2 separate regions of the Homo sapiens genome follow, and region 1 is linked to region 2. Evidence: promoter capture Hi-C in 16 types of primary human blood cells and fetal thymus (Javierre and others, 2016). All regions are on one chromosome and are shown on one strand. Each heading gives the region's core, a stretch centred on a gene start or on the middle of the fragment in contact. The rest is flanking DNA. Distances are from core to core; before and after follow the strand shown. Region 1 has its middle 140 kb from the start of LINC01436. Region 2 holds the start of CLIC6 (chloride intracellular channel 6).

Region 1 (5,012 bases), core at 2,475-4,974, 1.2 Mb before region 2:
TGTTTTGCATCTGGCCTTACCAGACTTTACCCAAGGTAATACAGTTAAAACATGCCTTAATAAAAAAAATTAAGACCACAACAAACATCTCCTGAGCATTTGCTGTGTGCCTAGCAATGTGCTAAGAGTTTCCCAGGATTTTGTGAAATCCTTATAACTCCTTAGTGAGGCAGGGGATGCTTATCCTCCCATTTTATAGATGAGGACCCTGACTGAGGCTGAGATAAGTTAAGCAACACATTCTCTCTCCAACAAGCATCTGAAAACTTGGATTCTCAGAGTTACATATGATTTTTGGTTGGAGGTAGAGTTGTTTTTGTTTTGTTTTCAATTGCTTCAATTTTGAAAGAATGCTGCTCTACTCTGAATTTGGACACTGGTTGATAAGTGAGTCAGAGGCTTTGGTTCTGGTTTTTATTTTTTGAGATGGAGTTTTGCTCTTGTCACCCAGGCTGGAGTGCAATGGCACGATCTTGGCTCACTGCAACCTCCGCCTCCCGGGTTCAAGCGATTCTCCTGCCTCAGCCTCCCGAGTAGCTGGGATTACAGGCGACTGCCACCATGCCCAGCTAATTTTTGTATTTTTAGTATAGACAGGGTTTCATCATGTTGGCCAGGCTAGTCTCGAACTCCTGACCCTGACCTCAGGTGATCTGCCCGCCTCGGCCTCCCAAAGTGCTGGTATTATAGGCATGAGCTACCACGACCCGCCTTTTTTTTTTTGGAATGTTTGTAAAGAAGTAATTCTGGGTGGATTCAGAAATGTGCTTTCAAATACTCTGGGGGTCATGAAATTTAAAGGGGCAGTAAGACTTCTTTTTTCTTTTTTTCTTTTTTCTTTTTTTAGACAGGGTCTTGCTCTGTCACTCAGGCTAGAGTGCAGTGGTGTGATCATGGCTTACTGCAGGTTCAATCTCCTGGGCTCAGTCGATCCTCCCACCTCAGCCTCCTGAGTAGCTGGCACCACAGGTGTGTACCACCACACCTGGCTAATTTTTAAATTTTTTTACAGAAACAGGGTCTCCCAGTGTTGCCAGGGCTGGTGTTAACTTTTGGCTTCAAGGAATCCTCCCTTGAAGGCCTCCCAAAGTACTGAGATTACAGGCGGGAGTCCCCGTGCCCAGCTTGGGCAGCAAGACTTCTTAGTTAGGGTCTCATGATTGGAGGGTCCCTGGAGGGCAGGCAGGATGGTATTAGGGTGGGCACAGGGATCATTTAAGATGGTATCTGGTTCTGAACTCATATTTGACTGGTCGATCAACAAGTTACCTTGTAAAATTTTCATTTATAAAATTTTAGCATATAAGCTCATTGTATCTGTGACTAGGGACTTAAGTGTCTTCACATACACAGGCTCTAAAATGTCTGGGTTGATCAGATTTTGCATGATCTGTTTTTTTGCTTTGTAGTTTACTGTACATGATTTTATGAAGACTTTACTATTAGGACCTGCCTATGATACTGGGATACTTTTTTCTTTCTCCATTCATTTGCCCACTCACTCACTTGCTTGGGCAATTGATAGCTCACTCACTCCTAGATTGATTGAGTCATTTAATCTATATGAATAATACATGAAAAGTTGCTAGTATAAATGCAAACAGAACAAAAATATATTGAGCAAAACATAAACCTGCTCCTGTACTGAGTCTCCTGGTTCCCTCCCCCTCTTACTCCTGGCCCCTCAGTGCCACCCACCATTCAGAGTTGGTGGTTTGGTATGAAAGTTTCAAGACTTCTAGACATTTCTTTTTGTAGATGTCTATCATAAGGGTTTCACCATGTGGTATCCCTAATCGTAATGGATTCACTTTTTTTGAAAATCTTTTAAAAATAACATTTTTTTCATTTTTATCATTTTTGAAAAAAACCCCATCAAAAAGTGGGCAAAGGATATGAACAGACACTTCTCAAAAGAAGACATTTATGCAGCCAACAGACATGAAAAAATGTTCATCATCACTGGCCATCAGAGAAATGCAAATCAAAACCACAATGAGATACCATCTCACGCCAGTTAGAATGGCAATCATTAAAAGTCAGGAAACAACATGCTGGAGAGGATGTGGAAAAATAGGAATGCTTTTACACTGTTGGTGGGAGTGTAAATTAGTTCAACCATTGTGGAAGACAGTGCAGTGATTCCTCAGGGATCTAGAACTAGAAATACTACATGACCCAGCGATCCCATTAGTGGGTATATACCCAAAGGATTATAAATCATGCTACTATAAAGACACATGCACACGTATGTTTATTGCGGCACTATTCACAATAACAAAGACTTGGAACCAACCTAAATGTCCATCTATGATAGACTGGATTAAGAAAATGTGGCACATATACACCATGGAATACCATGCAACCATAAAAAAGGATAAGTTCATGTCCTTTGCAGGGATGTGAATGAAGCTGGAAACCATAATTCTAAGCCAACTATCACAAGTACAGAAAACCAAACACCACATGTTCTCATCATAGGTGGGAGTTGAACAACGAGAACACATGGACACAGGGTAGGGAACATCACACACCAGGGCCTGTCGGGGGGTAGGGGGCTGGGGGAGGGATAGCATTAGGAGAAATACCTAATGTAAATGACAGGTTGATGGGTGCAGCAAACCACCATGGCACATGTATACCTACGTAACAAACCTGCACGTTCTGCACATGTACCCTAGAACTTAAAGTATAATGATAATAAAATAACAATTGTTTTACTTTTAAATTCATTTTTAGACCATTTTATTTTACTAGAATTTTGTCAGTTACTCTAGAAATTTCCTTGCTTTTGCCCAAAGTAATCACTATCCTGGCTATTATATTGATAAATCCTTTGCATCTTTTTGTATTAATTAAAAACACGTAGCTCTAAATGCTGTAGTTTTTCCCATTAAAAAAGCCTATATGTGTGTGTGTAAAATTTTAATACATAATTTTATATATGTCTTTCTGTCTGTCTGCTGTCTCTTAGCTTACAGGTTTTCCTCCATCTATTTTTCTTACAGTTTATGTATTGAAGAACCTGGGCCGTTTGACCCACGGAGTGGTTCTCAATCTGGATTTGGCTGATTGGGCACTCATGTTGCAGGTTAACATGCTCCTCGGTTTTCTGACCTCCTAGAAGTTGGCAGCTGGATCCAGAAGCTTCAACAGCCTCAGGTTCAGCCTCCTGGGCTGGCGGATTGTAGGTGAGTCTGTGTTCTTTCACATGCCTGTTGGCTCCTTGTTTTTGATGTTGGCAGATGTGATGCACATTGCCTAGATCCATTCTTTCACTGCAGGGTGCAGACTGTTGATTTCTGATTCTGTCACTCTGCTTTGATTTATTAGCTGTAATGATTTTATTAGAAAATTCTTTCTTTCATCTACTAGTTGGTTATTTACTGGCTTAGTTCATAAGGAATCTAAAATAAATGTTTTACGTTTTCCTTGTATTTACTAAGTTTTCAAGATAATGCTGTTGACTTTCAAAAGTTTATCAAGTAGGTTTGAAAAAATACCTTTATGAACTCATGGGTTTAAACTTATTTGATCAGTTTTAATCCATTGCAATTCTCATCTTTATGAGAGTTCAAATTGCCCCATCCTTGACCAGAGGGAGATCTTCAGGTTGAGCTACTTTGACCAGTGGCTGTTGAGTCTTTTTTTTTTTTTTTTTTTTTTTTGTTTGTTTGAGACAGGGGGTCTTGTTCTCTCACCCTGGCTGGAGTGCAGTGACGTGATTTTGGCTCACTGTAGCCTTGACCTCCTGGGCTCAAGCAATCCTCCTGCCTCAGCCTCCTGAGTAGGTGGGACTACAGTTGTGCGCCACCATGCCTGGTTAATTTTTTATTTTTTGTAGATCCAGGGTTTTCCCTTGTTGCTTAGGCTCATCCCCAACTTCTGGGCTCAAGTGATCTTCCTGCCTCAGCCTCCCAAAATGCTGGGATTATAGGCATGAGCCTAATTAATATGGGATATTAATTATCAATCTAGAAAGACATAAATGTATTGCTTGGAAAGAAGAAAGGATCCATTGACAAAGAAGAGATACAAAGATTTGATCTTGATTTATCTCAGGTAGATGTCAACTTCTGCCATATTTTCTTGATCATTAACTGAGACCTCATCCCTCTTCTTCCCCTACTTTTTTCCTTTAAAGCCAAATAAAAATAAACAGAACTAGTATTATTTTGCATTGAGTATCCCAAGTAGATTTAGAATGTTGGTTTCAAAGTAAATAAACAAGAGACGGATGCAATGGAATTTCATAACCATGATGGACTTTGGGGTGTAATAATTTTCTTAGGCAAGCTTATAAAAACAGTGTTTTCTCCCTGTAGTCTGTCCTTAGGGACTAATGTTCTAAAAAGAGAGAACAATTTTCCAGTAAAATTAACTCTGTGAAGATTTTATGGATTTTAAAGACATACCACTTTGTGTGTGTGTGTGCAAGGCTCTTATAGACAGGCTGCTGTGTAGCAGTGGGGACCTCCATGGTGAGTTATGTTCTTGTCCTTATGTCATGGGAGCAGGTAGACATAAATACTTTCATGCATGGAGCTTCTGGATCCTTTGTCTAAAATTCTGCCATCTTTTCTAATAGATTGCAAGTTCTCTTTAAAAGTGGAAACACCCCTTAAAGATATGAAGCAAATCTTCATCATTTGGAAGGCAGTATATAACTCACAAATGGGTTGTCTTCAAAGGTTGTTTATAAGGCACTGGCTTGAAACTGCATTTATCTATGGACCTATGATAGGTTCTTAAGGCAGCAGATTAACACTTACCAAGCCCACCATATTCATTTTGGTAGCACTGAAGCAATACTATAGACCCTAGCACCAGGCGTGACTGTGTTCTGGAGCAGTGGTTCTCAACCAGGCCATTGAAGGCAATTTCTTAAAAGCCCTGCCGGCCTGGGTACCTCACACCACTCCTGCACTAACCTACTTAGAGTGTGGCTCTTTGCAGCTTACTCCTGTGCTCAAGGTCATGAATGCTCCTTACTCTCAAACAGAGGCCCACTC
Region 2 (5,183 bases), core at 2,229-4,728:
GGAGGAGAAACTCCATTCAGACAGAGGGTACATAATGTAGAAAGTTTCAAGGCAGGAAAGAACGTGGCTCCCTCAAGGAACAGTAAGTAGTTTAATCCAGGTGGCATAGCGAGACCACAGGTAACAAAGGGTGGGGACACCCAGCAATGCCAAGGCCAGAAAGAAAGAAGGCAGAAATAACATCACAAAGGGCCTTGTGGGCTGCCTAAGGAGTGGGGATTTACCTGAAATTCTGCAATAAACAACTGAAGAATTTTACACAAAGAAATAAAATGATCAGATCTTGTCCGCAGCTCACTGGCTATTACAAAGAGACTAGATTGGAGAGGACAGAGAACTGAAACAGGGAGACTAGCCAGAAGCTGCTACTGTCCATCAAAACTGTGCTAAGAGGCCGTGTGCCAGAATCATGTATCCTTACAACCACAGCAACGGGAAATTTCTAAAACCAAGGTGATGGAGAGGAGCAGATTTGGGGTCACACAGCAGCACTGCGCTCCAGCTCTTCCCAGCAGCCTCTCAGGGGCTGGTGTCCTGAGGTTATGTCCCAGGGTCTTGAAAAAAGCCAGAAACAGCACCTTCTCACTAGGGAAGAAACACACACACACCCCTTCTTTCCCAAGCCCCTCGCCACCCAAACAATTCTTAAAATTCTGATGTTAATCACATTGGGAGCATTTCCTTTTACTTATTAAAATGTGCTTGCATTTCAGCCAGAGAGATTTAGATGGTAACTGGTTTCTATAAGCCTGGAAGTATTTCTGAAGGATTATGATTCAACATGAAATGCACATTCTTGACCTTATTATCTCCAACTTTCCTGGGTCTGGCCAAAGGTCCTCAGAAAAGGCTTTTTAAACAAAGATCCTGGTGTGAACTGCTGCTGAGCTTTGTTCTTTCATTTTTCATGCCTTGTAAATAATTCCTGTTTAAATTCAAAACTTCCTCAGTTGTGTCTCTACAGATTCCTTCACAGAATCCTTGCTCTCTTCCCATGTGAACTGAGGTTAAAAACATGACATACAAGCAGATGATGTTCAAGTCACCGGCATCTTGTATTCTTCCAAATTCAATGTTAAAACGTTCAAAAAACATTATGTCAATAAGGCTCCATTCCCCCCTAAACGTACATTGTTGATTCTACCAAAATGGAATACCTTTTTGGAGTTGAAAACATTGACCAGCTCTGGGTCTCCGAGATTGAGTCTGGAAGGCACCTCCCACATTGAACCTACCTGTCTGCGTTTTTTGGCTTCAAGTATTAAAGCTTCCTTTGGCAGAAATCCCTTTGAACACCAATAGGGTGCGTTGCTTTTCTTCTTCTTCTTCTTTTTTTTTTTTTTTTTTTTTAACTTTTTAGTTAATTCGTTAATAACCTCCTGACTAGGAGGGCTGGTTAGGATGTTCAGGTCAAAGGACAGTGGGATGCTGAACCCACAACCCCACATCCTCATTGGCCCCCATCGCACTCCCCGTCGCCCCCACCCCCAAAGTCTTTGCTTCCAAACCATTGAGTCCTCCCGCAAATGCCCTGGAAACTCTTCTCCGGGAAATCCCGGCTGTCCCGCCTACCGCCCGCGCATGGAAGCGCCTGATGACAATCAGGATACCACCAAGGGTTCCTCCCTGCGCGTCCCTCTGGGATCTGAGATGACCAAGACCTCGAATGGAAGGGGGTCGTCCTAAGAATTGAGGGAAGCGAGCTTTACCTTGACGAAGAGGGTGATGTCGTGCTCCTGCCCCAGGGCCCGGGGCTCGGACGCCTCTCCGTCCTCCCGGCGGCCGTTCACGCGCGCGGCCTCGCCGCTACCCTCGGCGGGGCCCTCCTCGGCCAGGTGGTTGCTGAGCTGGGCCTCAGGCTCCGCGGCGCCCCTGGAGGCCTCCCCATGTGGGCTGCTGTCGGGGGATTCCTCTTCGCCCCCCGCTGCTTCCTCCTCCCTTGGCCCCTCCGGGCTCCGCTCTCGTCTCTCTTCGTCCTCCCCCGGCTCCTGCTGTGGCCCATCCCCTACCCTGTCCTCGCCAGCGTCTGCCCTTGCGTCCCCGGGGGCCGCTTCTTCGGACCCCTTTACCCCCGGGACCTCCGCCTCCTCCGCTGCGTCCCAGGCGAGCTCACCGGGGCTGCGCCCCGCACTCTCCCCGGCTGCGACCTCAATTGCCTCGGCCTGGGGCGAGAGGCTGCCGTCCCCCGATTGCTGCGGCTCACCCGAGACCCGGCGCGCCCTTCCTGCCGGACCCTCGGCGTCCATGCTGTCCCCCGCCGGGCCTTCGGCTTCTACGCTGTCCCCCGCCGGGACCCCCGCTTCTACGCCGTCCCCCGCCGGGTCCCCCGCCTCTACGCTGTCCCCCACCCGGCCCTCCGCGTCTACGCTGTCCCCCGCCGGACCTTCCGCGTCTACGCTGTCCCCCACCCGGCCCTCCGCGTCTACGCTGTCCCCCGCCGGGCCCTCGGCTTGTATGTTGTCCCCCAGCGGGCCCTCCGCGTCTACGCTGTCCCCCGCCGGACCTTCCGCGTCTACGCTGTCCCCCACCCGGCCCTCCGCCTCTACGCTGTCGCCCGCCGGGCCCTCCGCTTCTATGTTGTCCCCCAGCGGGCCCTCCGCGTCTACGCTGTCCCCCGCCTCCCCGGACGCGCTACCTTCCGGGACCTCAGGCCTCTGCTCCGCCTCCTCCTGCCTCTCGGGGGCCGCAGAGTCCTCGGGCTCCCTCTGAGCCTCCCCGCGGGGCTCGCCCTGCGCGCCGCGTCCCGGGCTCGCCCCCTCCACCTGCTGCGCGCCGCTTGTCTCCTCCCCTCCTTGGGGCACCTCGGCACCCTCCGGGGCTCCCTCCTCGGCCTCAGTCTCGCCGTGCGCCCCCCTCGTGCCCCGCGCCTCGGCCTCCGGGCCCCTGTCTGGCCCGCCGCCTCCTGCCTCCTTCACAGCGGCGGCGCCCCTCGGCGCCTCCTCTGCGCCCTCGCTCCCCTCCGGCCCTTCTGCCTCCCCGCCCGCGGCTCCTGGCTCTCCGGGTCTCTCAGCCAGAGGCGCGGGGACCTCCGGCGGCCCCTGGGGACCCGGGGCAACCCCCTCCGGCTCCGCGGCCTCGGCCATGGCCGCAGATCCCTGTCCTTGATCGGGACTCCTTCCTTGACGCTGCTTAAGGGTCGGTGGCGCTGGGCAAGGGGCGTGCTACGGGGCCCTCTGTGCTCCTTGAAGGACGCCGGCTCCGGGATCCTGCGGCAAAGGTTTAGCCGGGGCACTGGGGCCTTGCGCAGGACCCGCAGGGCAAACTCCGCTTGGCCCCAAGCCTCTGCGCCCCTTCTGCCCAGCTGAAACTCCCTGGACTCTTCCTCCACTGCTGGAGCTTCTCCCCGATTGCGCGTCTGCTTCCCACCGGGACCCCAATCTCGCCCGCGGGCCGCGGAGGTGCAGTGCACGGCTGGAGAGGGCTGCTTCGCTCCTGCGCCTTTGGAAGTGCCCGGCCCGCTGTCCGCTGTCCTGGGGTTGACCAGAAGTCCTTGGTGCCAACTCCATCCCCTGGGGCTTGGGCGGGGTTTGTCTTCCCCTCCTCCCTCCTTTGTTTGGGTAGCCTAGGAGCTTGGCCAATGACAGCCTTTCTCGTGACCCTTGTGGATGTTGATGAAAAGATTCTGGTTCTCCTGGCCGCTTGGGTGTTGTTCTCTAGAATGGCTTCAAGTTCCAGAGTCACTTAAATCACCCCCTCCAAACACACACCCCGACACCCAAACACCTAATCCCCACCTTACCCCAGGAGTGAAGCATCAAGCTCCCCCGGTACCCAACTGAAGATGTCCACATTGTGCCTGATGTCCAAGAGCAAGGGTGTAAATCCCTGAGAGAAGAAGCTGGGGAGGCTACGCTGGCCGCCTTCCCATGTCTGCAGGGCCCCCGGAGAGGTTCCAGAGGCCCCTCATATAGACGCACAAGGAGCCAGTCGAGTTTCTCTGACCAGAGATGGGCGCTGTTGTCCATGAGGGTCCGCTTCTCCGGGCCTGTCTGGAGGATCGTGGGAGCCCTGCGCTGGAAAAAGGTTACACCTTCATCTCCCGGGTCTCTTAAGACTGTAAGAGTCTGTGTATCTTGCTGATTCTCCTAGATTTCTAAACTCACCACCAGTGCTTCTGCCTCCAAGTTAAGAGCTTGGGAATCTGGAGGTGGAGAAAAGAAAATCCAAGATGTGAAAGAGGGGAGCTATGGAATTCCCTGGGTTAGGGTTCTCCCAGGATCACAGACCCAATACCTACTTTAAAAAGGAAGTTATTATGGTGAAAAGTATGTCGTAAGTTTATTATAAGCCAGGCTACTTCTAGTGGGTTACCAAGAAACTGGGTTACCCAAGGTGGCACTATGTAAATGTGGTGGAACGGGGATCCCAGCTCAAGACTGACTTGATTCATCAGGCTTTATATGGCTTTGATATTGGCCTAAGATACATGAGCCCCTCATGCCCACAGAAGGTTGTTTTCGTTGAAAGAGCTGGGTGTGCCTTTGATGTGGCTTGGGGTCACACCTTTGGCCATGAACATAATGTGTCTCCTTCTACTTCCCATTGCTCATCACTGATGGATGACAGGACAGGAGCCCAGAGACACTCAGCTTCATGCTACCTTTCTCCAAGGCTGTGCTCTGTCTGGGTAGGTACAGGCCAGAAGCTTCATCACCACAAAGTGGCATCTAGTCAAAGCATGACACTCACACAGGTGAGCCAGAGATGCACGTGAGCCGTAAAAGCTCTAGGCACCTAGAAAAGGAATCCTGCTGCATTCACCGGGGCAAGGTAGCAGCCATCACCCTTATCTTGTAAAGAAAGATGAAGCCAGCACGTTCAGCCCGGAACAGCAAACACAGTACAGGTTTACAGTGCTTTATGCAAATCCCATGAGCCCGGATGTGTTTCAGAAAACAGAATTGTTAGAAAGATGATTGAGTGATTTTACTGTATATTACATAACACAGAACATCACTTTGTGATCAAACACATTAATATTTCTGCAGTAAGACAGGCATCACATTTGGTGAGATATGGTAAAATCATACAAGCTTCAGGCCCCCCACCCCCAGTTTAGGTTCACCTCCAGCTGAGTTCAAGCCTTTCTGGTTCTGATTCTAGATGAGTTCCCAAAACAGCTTTCAGTATTCAGAGCCTTTTAGGATTTCAGAATGTGTATAAAAGGATTGTGGACCTGTGAA

The links. The method cuts DNA at HindIII sites, captures the fragments that hold promoters and counts their contacts. A CHiCAGO score of 5 or more calls a contact.
Region 1: a contact is called between a fragment that was not itself captured here and the fragment with the promoter of CLIC6 in region 2, in 1 of 17 cell types (naive B cells). The highest score is 7.0, in naive B cells.

The regions. Positions count from the first base shown.
Region 1 is chr21:35,862,464-35,867,475 of GRCh38, reverse strand. No RefSeq gene overlaps it. Among named protein-coding and RNA genes, the nearest start is that of LINC01436, 140 kb to the left of the region's middle. The HindIII fragment of the contact is 1,149 bases long and covers 3,150-4,298 here.
Region 2 is chr21:34,667,289-34,672,471 of GRCh38, reverse strand. CLIC6 (chloride intracellular channel 6) reads right to left here and starts at 3,478. Exons shown (of 6, transcript NM_053277.3): 1 at 1,710-3,478. The coding sequence starts at 3,083. RefSeq lists silencers at 1,766-1,845, 2,746-3,185. The HindIII fragment of the contact is 3,378 bases long and covers 1,270-4,647 here.